3 separate regions of the Homo sapiens genome follow, and all the other regions are linked to region 1. Evidence: promoter capture Hi-C in human tissues and cell types (Jung and others, 2019). All regions are on one chromosome and are shown on one strand. The core of a region is centred on a gene start or on the middle of the fragment in contact, and the rest is flanking DNA. Distances in the headings are between cores, read along the strand shown.

Region 1 (4,384 bases), core at 1,090-3,589:
TATTTAACTCCCTTTAACTCCTTAACTCCCATTAACTCCCTAAGCAACTGACGGTCAACAATTATCCCTTGCACTATTTTTTTGTTGGTGGTGGTGCTTTGTTTTGGTTTTGGTAACCACAAAATCAAAAAGGAACTTTTTGATGACCAGCTATTCCAAGTTTCTCATTTACAAATGAGAAAATAATGAGCCTGATTAGTGCACAAAAGCATAAATACACATAGCATTTGTATCTGACACTGTTCTAGGCAAGAAGAATACAGACATTAACAAAATAGACAATTTTTTCCTCATGAATTTGACAGTTGAAAATGGGCATTTTTTTTTACTTATTGCAAATAACTATCTTATAACAATCAAGTTATTCTTGTTTGAAATACTTCTCTCCAAATAGATTCTCTGCTTATTTTCTACTATTATTAACATCTCCATAATAATTTTACATTAAAAATGTTTCATAAAATATTGTTAAAAGCCTCACTGCTTTTTTCTATTTAAATGATTTGTTTTAGTAATAGATATATAGATATGCATTCCTTTAAAAATGATTTAAATAACATCTTAAGCTATAATGTCTGTATTAGGATGACAAATGGATATATGCTAAGGAAATGTTTGCATTTAAATTACCAGAACATCTGCTACCAAACCAAAAAAAAAAAATTGATGTCTCAAGAAACCACATTCCACTTCAGAAATGGATTCTAGAACTTAGTGAAAATGATAAGAAGATTTTAAATTCAAATTTTAAAAAGAGAGTAATAATTCTGAACTAAAATAATCTAAAATAGCATGAAAGAAAGAGTTCTAATCATTAACATATTCGCAATCAGGGCTAAAAAAATCATTAATATAACACATCATTAATTCAAGTGATCATCATCCCATATAAGCAAGCCAAGGCTTACTTAGCAACAATGACAAAAAATTCCTCCAAATACAGCCTGAACGGTGAGTGAGAACAGAATCTCTAGAACAATCAAGCCAATGATTATTCAAAGACATCCAAGAGGAAGACAGATTCAGAAAATGGACTTGGGGCTTTGATAACCAGCATCACTGCACCATTATTTCTGTGAAACATTGTTGATCCTGGTTCATTTTCAAAAGGGCTTTTCCATTCAGGGAAAATTTGGTATAAATATAAAATTCAACAGGTGTGCATGAATGAAAAATGGCAGATTAACTTCTTAGAAACAAAATCTTTACATCATTTTAAATTTGTAAATACTGTTAGTGATTCATTACCTGCGATTCAATTCCTTCCTTTATTATTGACCGTATTTTCTCCGGAACTGTAATTTGCACAGGTAAACTATCAAAATCTGCAAAATGTGCAAAATGTTTTATTAGAACAATGCCCATCATTTCAGAGCGTGTTTTATGAGTTTTTCATCTAAATCTCTAATCTCTATTCTATACGCTGCTTCTCATTTTTATTATCTTCCCATTTCTTTCTAAAAATACAAGGAGGTTTTTTTTTCTGTTTTTCTGTTTTTTTTTTTGTTTTTGAGACGAAGTCTCACTCTGTCGCCCAGGCCCAGGCTGGAGTGCAGTGGTGAGATCTCTGCTCACTGCAACCTCCGCCTCCCGGTTTCAAGCGATTCCCCTGCCTCAGCCTCCCCAGCAGCTGGGACTACAGGCACGCACTACCACCCCCAGCTAATTTTCTATATTTTTAGTAGAGGGGGATTTCACCATGTTGGCCGGGATGGTCTCGATCTCCTGACCTCGTGATACGCCTTCCTCAGCCTCCCAAAGTGCTGGGATTACAGGCATGAGCCACCGTGCCCGGCCATATTTTTTTAAAAAAGAAGTAGGTGTATTGCTTTAGGAGTATTGCCCTGTAGGTAGGATCTGGTAACCTTGGGTCAATAGGTTCAAGCCCCTCAGGACAAATTAACTCACTCTGGACTCTTCAACTAGAGAGTACAGAAGTTGGGTCTCAACTTTCACTGTCGTGAAAAATGCAAAGCAGGATCTGAAACTACAATTTTGAAGCAACCTCTTAAGGCCTAGGACCTCCTATCTTATCTTTCCTAGGTTTCCAGGACGTGTGGGAAAGCCCTTATTCTACGTGGATTTTGGGTGGGGAAGGCGGCAATGTCGGGGATGAGCTTGGAATTGCTGAGTTGGAAACCCCTCAGGAAAGCATCCTCCCAGGGATGTCAATGTAACTTGGAGGCAAAGGGAGAGTAGCGCTGAGGGTCCCAAAAGGCCAGAGGAGGGGTTTTTCTGCTTACTACTGTCCATCCGCAGCCCGCCGAGCCCGCTGAGCAGAAACAAGACGCGCCACATGGCTTGAAGTCCTGGGTCCCAGCCGGAATAATGGCAGTTGGTGGTTACAGGGCAGTTGGAAGCGCGAGATGACGCCCCGGCCACGCAGCCTGGAAGAGGTAGGCGGCTGGGAGAGCCCAGGTGGGCTGAGGTTGGGTGTGGTGCGCTGTGGAACGTGCGAGCTCCTGAGCCCTGTCTCTTGCAGGACAAGCACTCCACTGGACGTGATGCCTAATTAAGGCAACAGCAACAACAAAATCACTTCCAACAGCTGAGGAACAGGAAGATTTATAAACACTTCTTAAGTAAAATTTCAATTGAATATATATAAACACGTATCAGGAGTTCGAGACCAGTTTCCGCAACATGGTGAAACCCCGTCTGTACTAAAAATACAAAAAAAAATTAGCCAGGCATGGTGGCGGGTGCCTGAAATCCCAGCTACTCGGGAAGCTGAGGCAGGAGAATCGCTTGAACCTAGGAGGCAGAGGTTGCAGTGAGCAGAAAGACCTTACCACTGCACTCCAGCCTGGGTGAGAGAGCGAAATTCCGTCAAAAAAAAAAAAAAAAAAAAAAAAAAGAACGAAACAAAAAACGAAAAAAAGTATATAATAAATCATAAGTTCACAGGTCAATTAATATTCAAGTGGAAAAAAAAAACAGCGTAACTAGTACCACGATGAAGAAATGAAAAAGAACCACCCAAATCCCCAGATTCCAACCTCACAACCATGACTTCTAAACAACCAAAGATTCGTTTTGTCTGTTTTTGAACTTTTCGCAAGTAGAAGCAATCACCATCTACTCTTTCATGTCTGGGTTCTTTTAATAGGATGATTGTAAGGTTCATACAAAGCAATAGTTCTGTTTTATCCTCATTGGTGTATATTACAAATTCATTAAATATAACACCACTTGTGTTTCCATTTTACTGTTAATGAATATTTTGTTTGTTTATTGTTCCAGCTATTAAAAATAATATTTAGCTATAAACATTCTTCTACATGCCTTTTGGTGTAATAAGTAAGGATTTCTACTGTGTATATTTCTAGAGTGAAGTTGTCGGATCACAGGGTATGTGTTGGTAGATACTTCCGACAAGTTTTCCAAGACTGTACTAATTTATACTCTCACCAGAAGTATATGAAAATTCCACTTCGTACACATCAATGCCTTGTTGTGTTGTTGTGTTGTCTGTAATGTTCCTTCATTGTAATGAACTTACCAACTTTTATATCAAGACATGCTGCCCTCATAAAAGAAATTAAGAAATGTTATCTCTTCGTTTAATCTTTGAAATAGTGTAATGCTGTGAATATTTATTCTTTTAATGTTTCTTAGCATTTAGAAATGGAGTGATTATGACCTGGAGTTTTCTTCATGAGAAGATTTATTTACTTTTTTATCTAATTTCTTTAAAATATTCATATTTTTTTCTTTTCGTGTTGGTTTGAGAAAGTTATGTTTCTGAAGGAATTTGTCCATTTCTTTGGGGTTGTTAAATTATTGACAAAAGTTGTTCATAATGACTTCCTCTCCTCTAGCAACTTTTTAAGGTCTATAGCACCTGCAGACATATCTCTTCTTCCATTCTCAATGTTGATAATTTGTGATGTTTCTCTTTATACTGGGTAAATAGGTCTTGGAATGTATAATTTTTATTAAGTTTTACAGGAACTCGGTTTTGGATTTCTTTATTTTTTTCTGTTGTATGTTTTCTGCTTTGTTGATTTTGTTCTTGGGTTCTTTTCCTTTTTTCTACTTTGGGCATAATGTTCCTTTTCTAGCTTCTAAGATTGGAAGTTTATATTATTTATTTTAAACATTTCTTCTTTTAACCTATGCCTTTAAACTACAAATTTCCATGTATTTCCAAATTTCTATCTATTCATTGCTTTAACTTCACCATTGTATTCTTATACTTTATTTTGATATACTTTACTTTCATTAATATTCAATTCTAAATGTTTTCTAATTTTCATCATGATTTCTTTTTGCCCCACATGTTTATTGGTGTTATTTAAATGCCACATATTTAAGCATGTATTAATTACTTTTTTATTGATGTCTAACTCAATTCCATTGTGATCATAGATTGTATTTTGAA
Region 2 (4,384 bases), core at 569-3,068, 460 kb before region 1:
TGGGGGCATCTACCCAGAGGAAAATAAATCATTATATGAAAAAGACGCTTGCTTATGCATGTTTATAGCAGCAGAATTCACAATTGCAAAAATATGGAACCAGTCTAAATGACTATCAACCAACAAGTGGACAAAGAACCAACAAGTGGATAAAGAATTTGTGGTATATATGTATGTGTATATATATTTGTGTGTATATATGTATATATATGTGTATATATATGTATGTGTATATATGTGTATACATGTATGTGTATATATGTATGTATATATGTATATATGTATGTATATATATGCATATATATGTGTATATGTGTATATATAGTGTATATATGTGTATATATACACACATATACATATATAGTGTATATATGTGTAAATATATACACATATATACATATACACATATACACATATATACATATACTCATATATATACACTATATATACACATATATACACACACATATATACACGTATATATACACATATATATATACACATACATATATACACATACACATATACAATGGAATACTACTCTGCCATAAAAAGGAATGAAATAATGGCATTTGCAGTAACCTGGATGGAATTGGAGACTGTTATTCTAAGTGAAGTAACTCAAGAATGGAAAACCAAACATCGTATGTTCTCACTTATAAGTGGGAGCTAAGCTATAAGGATACAAAGGCATAAGAGTAATATAATGGACTCTGGAGATGCGTGGGAAGGTATGGGAGTGGGGTGAGGGATAAAAGACTACACACTGGGTGCAGTGTACACTGCTTGGGTCATGGGTGCAACAAAATTTCAGAAATCACACCTAACGAACTTATCCATGTAGCCAAACCCCACCTGTTCTCCCAAACGATTGAAATAATTAATAATAATAAAGGTGAGATCCAGAACAAAAAAAGATGAGCCCATGAGGTGCACTTCTTGAGCAACACAATTCAATTTATTTAATTTTACCTCAATGATTGTGAAAATATAGTTTTTCAATATTCTAAAGTCACGACTCTCATATACCTACAAAGTAAAAATATTTTTAAAAGAATTTTCTCTGCCTCTCAATGAAGGAGCCAGTAGGATGATAAAGCTTGATTCAAAGAGTACTTGAGGAAGTGAGTGTTCACAGGTATTTTTAAAAATGTTAGAGTAGGCTGGGGGCAGTGGCTCATGCCTGTAATCCCAGTACTTTGGGAGGCCGAGGCGCGCGGATCATGAGGTCAGGAGATCGAGACCATCCTGGCTAACACGGTGAAACCCTGTCTCTACTAAAAAATACAACAAAAATTAGCCAGGCGTGGTGGTGTGCGCCTGTAGTCCCAGCTACTCGGGAGGCTGAGGCAGGAGAATGGCATGAACCCGGGAGGCGGAGCTTGCAGTGAGCCGAGATCTCGCCACTGCACTCCAGCCTGGGTGACAGAGCAAGACTCCGTCTCAAAAAAAAAAAAAAAAAAAAGTTAGAATCAAAGTACGATTGCCTTTTATACCAGTTCGTAAAAGGAAACAAATTCTGAAGAAACAAGTGTTGATACTTTCTCATTATACATATGCAAATTTTCCTCTATAAATACTTTGAACAATTAGTTTTGAATTAAATGTTGACTCTGTAAGCTTGAGTGACAGTAGATATTGTATTTGTCTTCTCATGCATCACCTGGAAAATTTGTGTGAGACTTTTTACAGATAGCAAATACTTGAAAACTTAAGAAAAAGTTGGCGAAAAACAATTTTGAGAAGATAAATGTTATATAAGCTGGGCCTTCAGGACCTTTGAAAGCTAGGAAAATTTTTATTTACTTTGCATAGGATAATGACAATAGCCATAAGAGACTGGGGCATGTGTTGAAGAAAGAAGAGTTTTCAGAGATGATGATTAGATGCTTCTTAGCAAAAGTAAATTTGTAGAAAGGGAAGCCCAGAAGCAGATCAGAAATATGTAATTATGGAAGTTATTTTTAAGTTTTTTGCAACATGAAATTTGAAATAAATATGAAATAAACTTTCTCCTGCGTGTTCTTAGAATATCTTCATCATTTGTGTGATTAAATTTCTTGTGCATAAAAAAATGGGTAATGCTTATAAGAGAAGCTAGAAACTCAAAGATAAGCAGACATCCATAAAGGAAAGAAAGGCAAAGTGGAGCTAGGGATATAAAAATTACTTGTAATCCATTTTGGCTCTGCTCAGTTGGGCAGTTTCTGGTTTCTCCATATTAATCTTAAAGAAGAAATCAGCAGCCATTTATAAAATGATAAATCCTCATCATAAACATTTTAAAAATGTTGCAGGCTTTAAAAGGAGATATTTTAAGAATCCTGTGTGATGCTTAAATAGTTAACAAGAAGATTTAATTTTCTAATTGCTATTAGAAACTTAGGGAAAAAAATGGACCAGCATATAGAGCCTACACAGAAATAAAACTTAAATAGCATTGATATTTAAAGTTTTATGTTTCTCTTTCCTCCTAGTTCAAACCGGCTAATATGATTTGTAGGAAATCAGTTGGTAAAGAATGCGATTTCACTGAATATTGCAATGGGGACCTTCCATACTGTTTGCCTGACACTTATGTACGTGATGGAGAATATTGTGATTCAGGTGGAGCCTTCTGTTTTCAAGGAAAGTGTCGGACTTTTGACAAACAATGTGATGATTTAATTGGAAGAGGTAATAATCATAATTTTCTTCTTAGTCCCTAAATTCTGATTATTCCAAACTCTGTTATTGAATTTTATGGAACAAAAATGTAAATGTATGTGTTAATGACTGAATTCTTGCATAATGTATATTAGTGTTAAAGAAAAAACAAAATTATCTTTTCTTTTTCTTTTTTGAGACGGAGTTTCTCTCTGTCGCCCAGGCTGGAGTGCAGTGGCCTGATCTCAGCTCACTGTAACCTCCGCCTCTTTGGTCCAAGCGATCCTCCTGGGTTCAAGCGATCCTCCTGCCGCAGCCTACGGAGTAGCTGGGATAACAGGAGCACACTGTCATGGGTGGTTAAGTTTGTGTTTTTAGTAGAGACAGTGTTTCACCATGTTGGCCAGGCTTGTCTCAAACTCCTAGCTTCAAGTGATCTGCCCACATCGTGCTCCCAAAGTGCTGGGATTACAGGCACGAGCCACTGCGCCTGGCGCAAAAACAAAATTTTCATGATTGTGAAATACAACAACAAAAAACCTCTCTGAATTTATATGGAATTTCTGTAGGAACAGAAAATAAACCTCAAGTGAAAATGCAGTTTTTCAAAATATTATATAGAATTTGTGGTGGGGGTTTAGTTTAAAGGAAACAAGGTTTCTTAATCAGAGGAAAGCAGGGCTAATCACTGATTAGTTGGGTTTCTAAGCGCTTGCTGAAAAGTGAGGGCTTCAGTTCATTAGCAATCTAGTCCATTTTGATAATTTCCTATAAATGTCATTTGCTTGATTGGAAGATACAAATTCCTGAACGTATGCAGTGCATGTTCTCCGAGAGAGTGAAATTTTTCATTCTTAGCCCTCCCTTGAGGTCTTCTCTAACCAGGTCATAGATCTCTAAATATTGTCTACAGCAATGTGACTGCCAGGAATTTAAGGAGAAGGTGAGATGGGGGTTTTGATGATTTTCATAATTTTGTCCTGCTTTTCTAACAGAATCATTATTTGTACCATATGGCAAGACAATAGCTATAGACTTTAAAACATTGTTAACATACAAACAAAGAGCTGGGGCCAGTAGCTCATGCCTGTAATCCCAGCACTTTGGGAGGCCAAGGCGGGCGGATCACAAGGTCAGGAGTTCAAGACCAGCCTGGCCAACATGGTGAAGCCCTGTCTCTACTAAAAATACAAAAATTAGCCGGGTGTGCTTGGGATGAGGCGGGATAATCGCTTGAATCCAGGAGGCCGAGGTTGCAGTGAGCTGAGATCACGCCACTGCACTCCAGCCTGGGCGACAGAGCAAGACACCGTCTTGGAAAACAAAAACAATAACAAAATCATTCAAACGAATGACCAGTAAAATTAGGAGGAATGGGACAGTACTTCAGATCTATGATCTAATGTTTCTTTAAGTAAAGCCAGGACTCAATGCTAGGCAGATAAAATTAGAGCCACATAGTGGATTGCCAATCAGGTGTCTTCCGGGTTATGCCATTCACTGTGTATTTAGTATTATCAGTGATTTTAAGAGATTTTAAAGTCCTTTGTGAGAACTGTGGGAGTACACGGGTATTTGCCCCAAAGAGTACAGTTTTTTTTTTTTGGAAGGCAAGCATGACTTCTAAAGCACCTTGATTTCAAAATAATGTATGTCCACTTCTAGTGACCATGTGTTCATGCATCTAGGACGTGATAATTCTGGACTTGACTACCAGTTTTTGTACTTATTTTTGAAA
Region 3 (4,384 bases), core at 1,373-3,872, 280 kb before region 1:
TTTCTAAGAAAGTAATTAGCTTTGGTATACCAGTTTCTTAAATTTGTATTTGCATATGGTAGTATGGCCAGAATTGCTTGACAAGATCAATGAGGTAAGTCAATTTTGATGTTTTTCTTTGTTTCTTTTTTTAGTATTCAAAGACAGTAACTTTAGAGGGATTTTCAGTTGTTATGACACAGTTGCTTGGAATTAATCTGGGATTGACATATGATGACATCTACAACTGTAACTGTCCAGGAGCTACATGCGTAATGAATTCTAAGGCAATGTAAGGTTTTTTTTTTTAATCAAATATATGTCTTCTCTTGGAAAATGTAGGCATTATTCCTTGATGTGTGATTTTTGCATTGTAACTTGAGTAAGAATGTTATTAAATATATATGTGCTTATTTAAGACTTTACAAGTTTGACTATGGGATTTTGTAGAAACCATGTTTAATAGTATTGCATTCAACATTATAGTATATATAGAGAGCAGATGTTGATGATTGTATACTTGGGTTTACTAAAGTTTATTGGAGCTGTTGAAAAATTTTTCAAGCCCAGCAAGTAAAACGGTTATTGGCTAGCAAGAAGCTTGAAAAGCTTAATAGACCTGGAATAAGGAGATTGCAGTAGGTAAAATGTTTTTAAAAAGTAGAAAGGCTGGCACTGTAAATAGGAATATTCTAGACATAGTGAAAATAAAGTGAAATACCATCAGGCCGAATAACTTTGAGTCAGGGGAAGAAACCCAGGGGTTAATATAAGAAATGAAGGAAAGCACCTGATCATGCAATCATGATACAGGGATTTGAATTTCATTTTACACACATGCACACACACACACATAAACACACACACATACATTTTAATCAATTTATTCAGTATGGGTAATAAAAAATATCTCATAAAATCAATGTAAAATAAATCAAAGGGAAAAACAATAATAATATTTGGGAGGTGGTAATTTTCATAATAATCTATAGTGGTTTATAATGATTTAGATAAAGGGAGATGCCAAGAATTATCCATAGGTTTTCATATATTATAACTTATTAACAAATATTTTAAGAGGTCATTAATTTAGGAAACGAGAATAGTGAGGGTAAATCTTGACGACGTTTTATATACATTGTATCTGGGGTATTTTAAGTAATTCACTGGAGCTGTTAACACAGAATGAGTTATATAGTTCCAGATCTCAGAGAACAAGCGATATAAAATGTACAAGCCATCAGTATATGAGTAACAATTAAAACCACAGACAGATCATTTAGAAAGAAGTTATCAAGTTAAAAGAGGTATCTTAGAGAAAGCTTTGAAAATTGCTTATATTTATAGGCTAAAAATTGAGGGAAAGTCAGTAATATGAAGGATCAGAAAGAAAGAAAATATTAGGACAACAACCATGTTAAGGTGTAATTTTACCTAGAGTGGAATCAGATCACAAGTTCAGGAGATCGAGACCATCCTGGCTAACGTGGTGAAACCCCATCTCTACTAAAAATACAAAAAATTAACCAGGCATGGTGGTGGGCACTTGTGGTCCCAGCTACTCGGGAGGCTGAGGCAGGAGAATGGCGTGAACCCAGGAGGCAAAGCTTGCAATGAGCCGAGATTGCACCACTGCACTCCAGCCTGGGCATCAGAGCAAGACTCCATCTCAAAAAAAAAAAAAAAAAAAAAAAAAAGAATAAAGGAAGGGTTGGGAGCCAAGTGGTAAAAACATCAGGATGTAGTTTAGTGTCTCCAAATTATCTTATAAAATAGAAAGAAAAACTATAAAAACATATGTATATACATACAAACACATAGAGACACACAGACACACAAAAGCATATGCAAGTTCCCCAAAACCAGAACACACAGAATACCAGCAGGTGGGGCCAATCAACTGCCAAAATAAAACCTGCATTTAATAAGTAGTGGTGTGGGAGGAAATGGAATACAATGGGGACCTAAAAATCATACAGACTGGGAACTCAGAAATTTTGGACTAATAAAAACCTCAAAAATTTTTTGTTCCCATGAAGAATGTTTATTTGTAAGTTCATAGCATTATAGGAGCTGAAATTGGTGGAGATTTTGCAAATTGTGGGTGAGAGGAAAAGAGCTATTAACATTACTTAAGATGCTGATATGGTCTCGATCTCTGTCCAGAAAAAATCTGGTAAAAATGAGCAAATGTCTCATCCAGATTACACTTTTTCAATATTATTTTCCACTAAAAGAAATATGGATATCTTGAAGAAATGACTGGTTCCAAGGCTCAGGCAGAGAAAATTAAAAATTAGCCTGGAATGCCTTCTATAAAAAATAAGGAGATTCACAAAGTATCATGGAGATAACACAAAGGCCAGTTAGAAAGGGCTCCAACAGGCCAAAACTGGGACAATTCGAATGTCAAAGATTATAATGGTACTAATGGATTACAACCCATTGAGTAAAATATGAAAACATGATTCCAAACTGATATAAATACATTAATGTATTTAAAATATAATTAGAAATGGATTGTTTACATAAAACCAAAGGGTTTCTCTCCAAGGAATTATCAACAGACAAAGGAAAAAAAAGTAATTTTCCAGGGAATACTGGCATGGACACCTTAATCAACTGATCAAAGTGACTATTCTCAGTAATATAACAAATCGAGATTGTTCACAACTTTTTGTATTGCAATGAAACAAACAAAGCAACACTGCTATAATAATATTGTAAAGATGCATAACCTCAGTCTAATCATAAAAATATATTTTATAAACCTAAATTAAGGTAATTTCTACCCCAAAATTGGCCTGTAATCATCAAACTTATCAAAATCATGAAAATCAATCAAAAAAAAAATCTTAGGAATGTAAGGTAAGGAGATGTGAGAACTAAACGTGATGTTTGATTCTGAACTGCATCATTTTGCTACAAAATGCCAATATTGTGATGTATATAAATGTTTGTACCACACCATTATTTCCTGATTTTGAAGGGTCTGCTGTGCCTATGTAGGAAAATTCAAATTTATGTAAGATCTATATATTAAAATATTGACATAGTTTGCACCTGTGTCCCAACCCAAATCTCATATTGAAATGTAATCCCCCAATGTTGGAGGTGGAGCCTTGTGGGAGGTGATTGGATCATGGGGGCATATTTTTCATGAATGGTTTAGCACTATTCTCCTTGGTACAGTTCTAACACTAGGGAGTGTGTTCTCATGAGATCTGGTCATTTAAAAGTATGTAGCACCCCACCCCTTGCTCTCTTGCTCCTGCTTTCACCATGTGATGTGACTGCTTCCCCTTTGCCTTCCGCCATAATTGGAAGCATCCTGAAGTCTCCCCAGAAACAGATACTGCTATGCTTCCTGTACCGCCTGCAGAACCATGAGCCTATTAAACCTATTTTCTTATGAATTACCCAGTCTCAGGTATTTTTTTATAGCAATTCAAGAATGGCCAAATACAGAAAATTGGTACCAGAGGTGAGGTATTGCTGTAAAGATACCTGAAAATGTTGACGTGACTTTGGAATTGAGTAACAAGTAAAGGCTGGAAGAGTTTGGAGGACTATGAAAAATACAGGAATATGAGGGAAAGTTTGGAACTTCATTTAGAGACTGATTAAATGCTTGTGGCCAAAATGCTGATAGTGATATGGACAATGAAGTCTAGACTGAGGTGGTCTCAGATGGAAATGAGGAACTTATTGGGACCTGGATCAATTGTCACAAATTTTATGCCTCATCAAAGAGCTTGGCTGCATTCTGTTCATGTCTTAGGGATCTGTGGAAGTTGAATTAAAGAGTGATGATTTATAATAACTGGTAGAAGAAATTTCTAGGAAGCAGTATTTAAGTTTGGCTTGGCTGCTTCTAACAGCCTATGTTCATACACAAGAGAAAAGAAATGACTTAAAGCTGGAACCTTATTTAAAAGAAAAGCAGAGCATCAAAGTTTGGAAAATTTACAGCCTAACCAGGAGAAAAATTCAAGGAGGCTTCTGAGTAACCCAAAGTGTAAGACAGGAAGTTTTTATTGCTCTCTTTTACTATTGATCGTAAGTACAAAAAACTTTCTGTTTTTCTTTTCTGTCTACTCTCTAACAGGCCAGTTTCAATAAAGCTTGTATTAAATTTAAGGATTTGATGCAATTTTTAAAAATACATTTCCTGCTTACTAATAGACACAACCCTAAGTTCAAAGATAAAAAAGAAACAGCTGCTTTGTTGAAACAGCTGCTTTGCTAACACATAACAGTGATTAACATGTTTGTAATCATTATTAAGATATTCCTCTTCGTAATGTCTAAAAAAATATGATTGGTACTAGATAATATTGGTAATGTATTGGTCAGTTTGTCTTGATAATGAATGGCCATAAAAGGAAAACACTGCAGAAGATCA

Evidence for each region. The method cuts DNA at HindIII sites, captures the fragments that hold promoters and counts their contacts. A contact is called where the count stands out against the background at its distance.
Region 2: a fragment that was not itself captured here is called in contact with the fragment with the promoter of ADAM2 in region 1 in 1 of the 25 tissues and cell types used here (dorsolateral prefrontal cortex).
Region 3: a contact is called between a fragment that was not itself captured here and the fragment with the promoter of ADAM2 in region 1, in 1 of the 25 tissues and cell types used here (H1 embryonic stem cells).

The regions. Positions count from the first base shown.
Region 1 is chr8:39,835,888-39,840,271 of GRCh38, forward strand. ADAM2 (ADAM metallopeptidase domain 2) reads right to left here and starts at 2,340. Exons shown (of 21, transcript NM_001464.5): 1 at 2,244-2,340; 2 at 1,249-1,325. The coding sequence starts at 2,298. The HindIII fragment of the contact is 9,732 bases long and covers 1-4,384 here.
Region 2 is chr8:39,373,202-39,377,585 of GRCh38, forward strand. It overlaps the pseudogene ADAM5. Among named protein-coding and RNA genes, the nearest start is that of ADAM18, 210 kb to the right of the region's middle. The HindIII fragment of the contact is 3,018 bases long and covers 310-3,327 here.
Region 3 is chr8:39,551,764-39,556,147 of GRCh38, forward strand. No RefSeq gene overlaps it. Among named protein-coding and RNA genes, the nearest start is that of ADAM18, 31 kb to the right of the region's middle. The HindIII fragment of the contact is 3,357 bases long and covers 945-4,301 here.